Linked DNA regions of Homo sapiens: region 2 is linked to region 1. The links are contacts of gene promoters, found by promoter capture Hi-C in blood cells and fetal thymus (Javierre and others, 2016). All regions are on one chromosome and are shown on one strand. The core of a region is centred on a gene start or on the middle of the fragment in contact, and the rest is flanking DNA. Distances in the headings are between cores, read along the strand shown. Region 1 holds the start of ARSJ (arylsulfatase family member J). Region 2 overlaps ANK2 (ankyrin 2).

Region 1 (3,706 bases), core at 672-3,171:
ACTTTACTTAAGCATCCAAATAGTCTGATTTCTGTTGGTTAGTCAGAAAATTCCAGACCTGTGAAGAGCAACAGAAAACTGCAGATGAAGTTTGACTCCTCTTGAGCACTTACCATTGTATTTCCTTGCATTTTGAGAACTGCTTTGCTAATTAAATATGGCCTTCATTAGGGGGTCTCATAAGAGAAAATGACCCATCAAAGACCGAAGCAGAGTCATACATAAACTGGTCATATTTTACATTACTCTATATCTGTTTCGTTGGTTCATTTTCTCTGATAATTCTAGATTTAAGAATGCACCAAGAGTAAAAAAAATTTTTGATCTTTCTTATCAGTGATGGTGAGTGTGAATTCTAGTATGACATCTGAAACAAAATCTGAGCATGCTCAAAAGTAGAATAGATTTGAAACAGGAGACCATTTCTGGAAATCTCTGGTTTGTGGGTATTTATACGTTCTCATCTCATTTAGAAACTTATAATTGGCTCTGTAAAAAGGAAAACTAGACTACACTAGTGACTAGAAAATTAAGATCATTAACATTGTATCCATTTTAACACGGTACCCCAATACCATACATCATTCATTCATTCTTCATTCATTCAGTTGTTCCCCATACTTTCTGTTACTCCCTTAAATTTGGAGCTGGATCTTCATTAAATGCTTAAGATTTCTCCAAGGAATAAATATAAGAAGTAGGAACACTTACTTTCCAGTAATAAACTGACTCCTGGATGGTGTGCAAATAGGCTGGACATAGTAGTTCTCCAGTTTAACTCCTTCGGCAGCGAGCTTGTCAAGAGTAGGTGTTTTAATCTCAGATCCGTGGTAACCCACATCTCTAAATCCCTGATCATCCGCTAGGATGAAAATGAGATGGGGCTGGGAGGTGGAAGTTGTGCTGGGCTCTAGTTTCTCTCCAGCTTGAGCTAGTAAGGCCCCTTCTTCCTCCTCTTCTAAGGCCTGGCCCCAGGACAGGTAACCATAAGTGAGGAGGCAGAGGATCCAGAATCCTGCCAGCGCCCCCATTGCTAGCATCTTTCCAGGACAGACACAGGCCTGTGGAGAAGGCGGAGGCGGATGCCCCGCACAGCCCCTGGGAGCCATTCACTCAGGTCCCAGGTGAGACTCCACGCGGAGAACCACGCGCCCCGCGCCGCTGCGGGCGCACACATGCACCCAACAGACGGTGAAGACTCTCCACCTGGCAAGAAATCCTCCTCTCCTCTCAGCTGTCACCATGTCCGACAACTTTAATCTTCCAGAAGTGATGGCTTAATGGATGGGACTCCGGAAGAACAAGGAGGGCTCGCTCTTCTCCAGCACATTTCACTTTCTCCTCCTCCTCCCCCCTCCCTAGAGCAGCTTCCACCAAGGAAAAAAAAAAGAAAAAAGTTAATATCTCCACCCAAAAGTTCTCTGGAGAAAAAAACCAAGCAAGGAATTGAGAATCACAGTGGACAGGAACTTTTCGTGGCCAGAGCGCCCTCGACGTTGGGGAGCGAGGCTGACTCTCCTGGGAGTGCTGGTACGGAGGGCGGCGGGATCGGCCGTCTGTCCTGCGGTCCCCACACCTGGAAAGAACTGCGAAGTGGACGCGTCGCGTCTGGCTCTGATCAGACAGATAAACTGCCGTAGTGGACCGGCCTCCTGATCACCTTCTCCACTTTCCCAGGGCTATTTTCCCCAGTCCTTTCCTAGGCGTTTGCCAATCTCCCCGACACTCACCAGGCGGCGAAGTGAGGAAGAAGCCGTTTCCTGATCTCCCTCCACCTCCGCAGAAACTCCGGGCAGCAATTCCTTTTCCCCGCTGCTAGGGAGCCTGAAGGCCAAAGCCGGGTCCCTAGCCCCGCGGCCGGTCCGCGCGGAGCCCGCTTGGTCTTTGCGTAGTTGGCGCACCCGGCGCAGGCGCTGCAAACTGCGTGCGTTTTCTCAGCTAACTTATTTAGCTTTGGCACTCCGAGTTCTTTTGCCTCCTCCCTCTTTTCTCTCCAGTGAATCACAGAACGGTACTTTCTTCCTGAGCTCCCCCGGGAAGAGGGGGTGGGGGAAAAGGACTGTTTAGAGGCTCGATCTTTCCTTTTTCTTTTCCGGGAGGTGGATGGCCAAGGCAGAGGAGGCTTTGCCAGAGAGAGAGCTGCGTGCTGCTCCAGCCCAGCGGGATTCCGGGGGATCCGCCTGGGCTACCGCGTCCCAAGAGTGTCGCCTCCTGCCCATCACCCCGCTAGAGGGAAAGGACGGCGGCGCGAATGGGGAAGGGTAAAGCGGGCACTTCTTTTCGTGGGGCTGTTGGTGAAGAGCCCCGTCTCCCATCCCTAAAGTTGCGCTTGCAAACTTTTTCTAGCTTCTGGAGGGAGTGAGAGAGAAGGAGCAGGAATAAAAACAAAATGCGTATGACACTCTTTCCTCTTTCCAACTTCCTTTGCAGGTTTTCCTTTACTAGTCCCCCCACCCCCATCATTTTCCTATTCCTTTTGTCCCTACCTTTTTTTTTTTTTTTTTCAGTAACGATGACAAATTTTTAAGTTTTATTTCCTCTCCCAATAGCTGGCTTTTACAGCCTGATTCTTCGTTACCCTTTCCCTATGTGAAAATACTGGAATTGCCCGCTCCCTCTTACCTCTCCCCTAACTTACCCACAGGGTGTCTCCAGCCAAAAGCCTGGAGAGGAAGAGTTATGCATTTCTCCTTCAAGAACCCCGAAGCCAGTCTGCATTCCTGCATTAAAGAAGCCAGTGTTTCCCATCCAGTAATTCAGGGAGCTTCATCATTTTTTTTCCTTCTTTCTTTTTTACCATGTGGAGGAAAACCATTGTAAAAACTTATCTTGGTTGTGAAAATACTCTTGATTTTACTAGAGTCATAGAGTTTTAAAGTCCTGCTCAAAGGCAGCAGAGGGATGTATAGTATAGTCTCTATAGAAGAGGCAATGAATGCCAAGAGCCACTGAGATATTTTTTTCTACCACCAAATTTATTCAACAGTTACTTACTGAATACCTACTGTGGGCTGGCACATAACATGTCAGATTCTCTCAATTGACTGAAACATAAATCTAGGTTTCATTTAGCCATTTATTTCTAATTCTCTCCTGTTGCTAAAGTTCCTGCTGAGTTCCCAGGCAAAACTTTGTGAAATGGGAACTTTGAAAGGCACGATGGTGCTCCATGAAGTTAACCTTGCTAGCTGCTGTAGGCCTTCTGGTCTCTGTTCTTCCTTGCAGCCCTTCTGGCTAAGCTGGGGAGAGATAGTCAGTTTTAGAAGCCATGTTCAGAAATGTGAGTTTAGCAATTCTGTAAATTAAGTCACCAAATATGTAATGAGAGTACTGAGTGTCAGGGGATTGAAAAGCATTGAGAGGTAGGGCCCTAGGCTTAATGGGCCTAGCCAGGTGCTTGAATGGGAAAGATGCAAACATTCTGGTCAATCTAGCCTTTTATTTGGGGAGATAGTGACTTCTTGTGACATAGCACAAGAAGTATCCATGTTCTGTGCAAGAAGGAGACACATTTTCAGTTGAGGTTCCAAGCAATAATAATAAAAAACAATCAAAATGTATGGAATACTTACCATGTGCTAACCATAGTATTCTATATACTGATACATACACACATATACAGTCGCATCTATCAGGGATTAGTTTCAGAACCCTGAGGGATACCAAAATTCATGGATGTTCAAGTCCCTTATGTAAAATGGTGCAC
Region 2 (3,310 bases), core at 737-3,236, 670 kb before region 1:
TGCCCCCACTTTTTTGTTAGTAACATAATTTCTGTGAATAAAGTATGTTGTGAGGCTGAATTAAAAAGAAATACATTCAGAACAAAACTGCCTGGAACTGACTTTTTCATGAAAAAGAATCCGAACAGAATCCCACGAGAGCCTGGATACAAGAAACAATCGGAGCAAAATCTGAGGGAGCCCAGTGTTAATAGGCAAATCTGGGAGGTTTATATAATATTCTGAGATATATGATCAGTGCTACTTTTTGTTATTATTAACTAGTACAACTGGCACTTGTTATTTTTTTATGCAAGTTAGGTAATGACATTCTGTGGTTCCTCATTGAAATTATGACTGATAAGTTGGGCCATGAATATGGATGTCATAGCTGGGTGCAGTGGCTGGGTGCTGAGACCTGTAGTCTCAGCTACTTGGGAGGCTGAGTTGGAGGATCCCTTGAGCCCCAGAATTCAAGTCCAGGCTGGGCAACATAGCAAGACACTGTCTCTTGAGACAGAAAAAAAAAAAAAGAAAAGAAAAGAAAGTTTGTCCACGTAGTGTAATGTGTTCTGCTAATCAATAATCTCAGGTTTATAGTTTTAAAGTTGGCACTATTGTAAGCTATTTTATGAATATCCAGCATAGAGTCTAAGAAATAAATACCTTAAAGTCTAAGTGAATAATTAGCAAAAACAAACTTTTCTTGGGCTTTTTCCTTGAGCACCAATGCCCCCTTCCACTATCTTTTTTTTTTTCTTTAGCAAGATAGGCTTGTTAACTTCATAGTCTAATGGGATGGGAGAGGGCATAAGCTAGTGGTACACATAGAGTGCCACTGAAGCCCTGAGGCTCTAGCTTCCTGGAGCAGATGAAACCAAACTGAGACCAAATAATGAGTAACAATGGTGAGGAAAAGTGGGGAGGGCATTTGAAGCCTTAACAAGGTCTTGAGCAAAGGCTCGCAGGGTGTATGAGAAAAAAGGGAATGCAGTGTTGCTGGAGTGTAAGTGTGGAGGACGGGAATTATATTTGCATAGCAGGGGGATCCTTCTGCCAGTGAGAAAGAGGATGAATTTTAAAGGAGAGTTTCAAAGGGCTAAACCTGGAGATTGCAGCCACTCTGAGAAGCAATTGTTCGTGTATTAACTGCAGGTGTCATGAGAGGACTAGCACTCTAACCTTGGTGATAGTCATGGAGAGAATTTCAGAAATAAAAAATTTGAGAGTTTTTTGAGACATGTGTAGGAGGCAAAACTAGTCAGATTTCATGATGAATTTCATGATTTAGGTGAGGAAGGGGAAGGAGATTAAATTGAGTCCTTGGCTTCAATAACTTAGATAAAGGGTGCTCCCAGAAGGAGGAGCCCCTCTGGAGTTCCATAAGCTGTCTTGATACATTGGTAGATTTGGACCTTATACTCTGAGATTCTTAAAAGATTTCAAATTTGAATAAAGTGTAATGTTCATGGCATTGCACAAATTGATGATAATCTATGAACAGTCTTATTACTGTCAACCATAAAGCTTCTATTTTTTGCATGGTCTCCCTTATTAAGAATAAGTACTTGATTTGATCTGTTTTTCTTCTTTCAAAGTACTTAGGTTGAGGAAGAATTTAGAATAATACTTTCTATAAAACAGGATGGATGGCTTGAATGCTCCTGCTTAAATCCAATACTTTTCAGCACATAAGGTCAGGGGACATGAAACAAACAAGACATACTGTGTTCTCCAGGTCTCCACTTGCATTTCTAGATCACTAGATGTATTCACCATTTCCAAAATAGAGTGACAGACAGCATCTCATTTTCATGGTCTTCTTTTATTTTTAATTTTGCTTAGGCAATTCAATATAAGTTACCTTTTCTCAGTGACCATTTTTTCCTTTGCATTATTTCTTTATCTGAATTGCTTTCACTAGCACCATGCCCAGGTAGGTATTAACAGAGCATGGAAACAAGCCCTTCCTAGATTTATCCACATTTCCCTGCTCACTGCTAAACCTGCGTGTGTGTGTTGCCGGGGCGGGGGGTGAGGGGGAGCGGTGGGGGAGTGGGAGGGGGTGCTTATATTCTAGAATTATGGATTTATTCTAAAATAAATATTTTTATGTATTGAACTGAATAACTAGCTGAGCTAGAAGAGGTGAATATATTATTAAAATGTAAATCTGTGACATGACCCAGGTATTGCTTTGTTTCAACAATCACTGCTGCACCTGTGGTTGATAACACATTAGCATGGCTTTCCCCAAACAACCCCAATTAGCCTATGTGTAGTTGGAGAAGATAGAAAAAATATTCTGATGCCTAAAATATGCATAGATATGGAAGAATACAAATACATACAATTTAATGTACATTAAATACAAATACAACCAAGTTATGATTAGTTGGATTTTGCATCTGTTTTATTTTATTGTAGCTTACAAATTAAAAATGCTTTCCAAATTCAATGTAAAATACTAAATAATAATGAACCACAGAAGCTTCTTCATATCTTAAAGCAAATTTATTGAAAATTGTGGATTTCTACTCGTTAAGTTTGCCACTCCATTAATTGAATGTTTAATAAATATTACAGTTTACCAAGATAGTAATTATTATACTTTTCAATAAAATTACACTTTCATACCACCTATTATGTGTCCATAAAGCAGTTGTACCGTAGTAAAATAAAAAATATAAACTAAGACCATAACAAAACCCCTAGTACATCCCCTAGATGAACAGCAAGTAAAACTTTACACTTCTATGGCTATGTTATTATACATTTATTAACTGAATAGCAGAACCATTGACTTCATGAAAAATTGGCAACTGTATTGGAAAATATTTAAACTTGTTTTTAATGTCTTAAATCAGAGTGAACAATTTCTGATCCAAGGGCTTAAATTATTCCAGACCTTTGTCATGCTGGTTATATTATTTTAGTGAGAATAATTCTTTAGTTATTATTATTTTAGAGGGAATATTCTTTTAGAGCGAATAACTTCTCTGGTGTTGGAATAGTCCATCTTTATTTCATTTAAGTAGATTATACGACATCATTTTTAAAAAAGCAGTTAGAAATGATACACATTGATTAAACAACCAATTAGTATTTCAGAAGGCAGTAAGTAAGTAGAGGAGGCTAGAATACAACCCATAGAAAGGTAGAGACACTCCTATATATGGTTTTGACTTATTCATTGTTGCTCCCTCTCTCTGTCCAACTTTTCTCACTCTCTGTGTACATATCCTAATATCTTTCTCTCTCTACTCTAATCAATTTTTTGTGATTATATATCACTTTGTCTCCTTCTTTCTTTTCTTATCCCTCTGTATTT

What was found. Contacts are between HindIII fragments. The CHiCAGO score rates a contact against its expected background, and 5 or more counts as called.
Region 2: a contact is called between a fragment that was not itself captured here and the fragment with the promoter of ARSJ in region 1, in 1 of 17 cell types (M2 macrophages). The highest score is 6.5, in M2 macrophages.

What each region holds. Positions count from the first base shown.
Region 1 is chr4:113,977,726-113,981,431 of GRCh38, forward strand. ARSJ (arylsulfatase family member J) reads right to left here and starts at 1,922. Exons shown (of 2, transcript NM_024590.4): 1 at 712-1,922. The coding sequence starts at 1,109. LOC107986305 (a long non-coding RNA gene) reads left to right here and starts at 2,088. Exons shown (of 2, transcript XR_001741794.2): 1 at 2,088-2,261; 2 at 2,645-3,706. LOC124900762 (a long non-coding RNA gene) reads right to left here. Exons shown (of 3, transcript XR_007058237.1): 3 at 3,170-3,239. The HindIII fragment of the contact is 10,512 bases long and covers 1-3,706 here.
Region 2 is chr4:113,311,781-113,315,090 of GRCh38, forward strand. The region is part of intron 24 of ANK2 (ankyrin 2); the gene reads left to right. Among named protein-coding and RNA genes, the nearest start is that of MIR8082, 160 kb to the left of the region's middle. The HindIII fragment of the contact is 964 bases long and covers 1,505-2,468 here.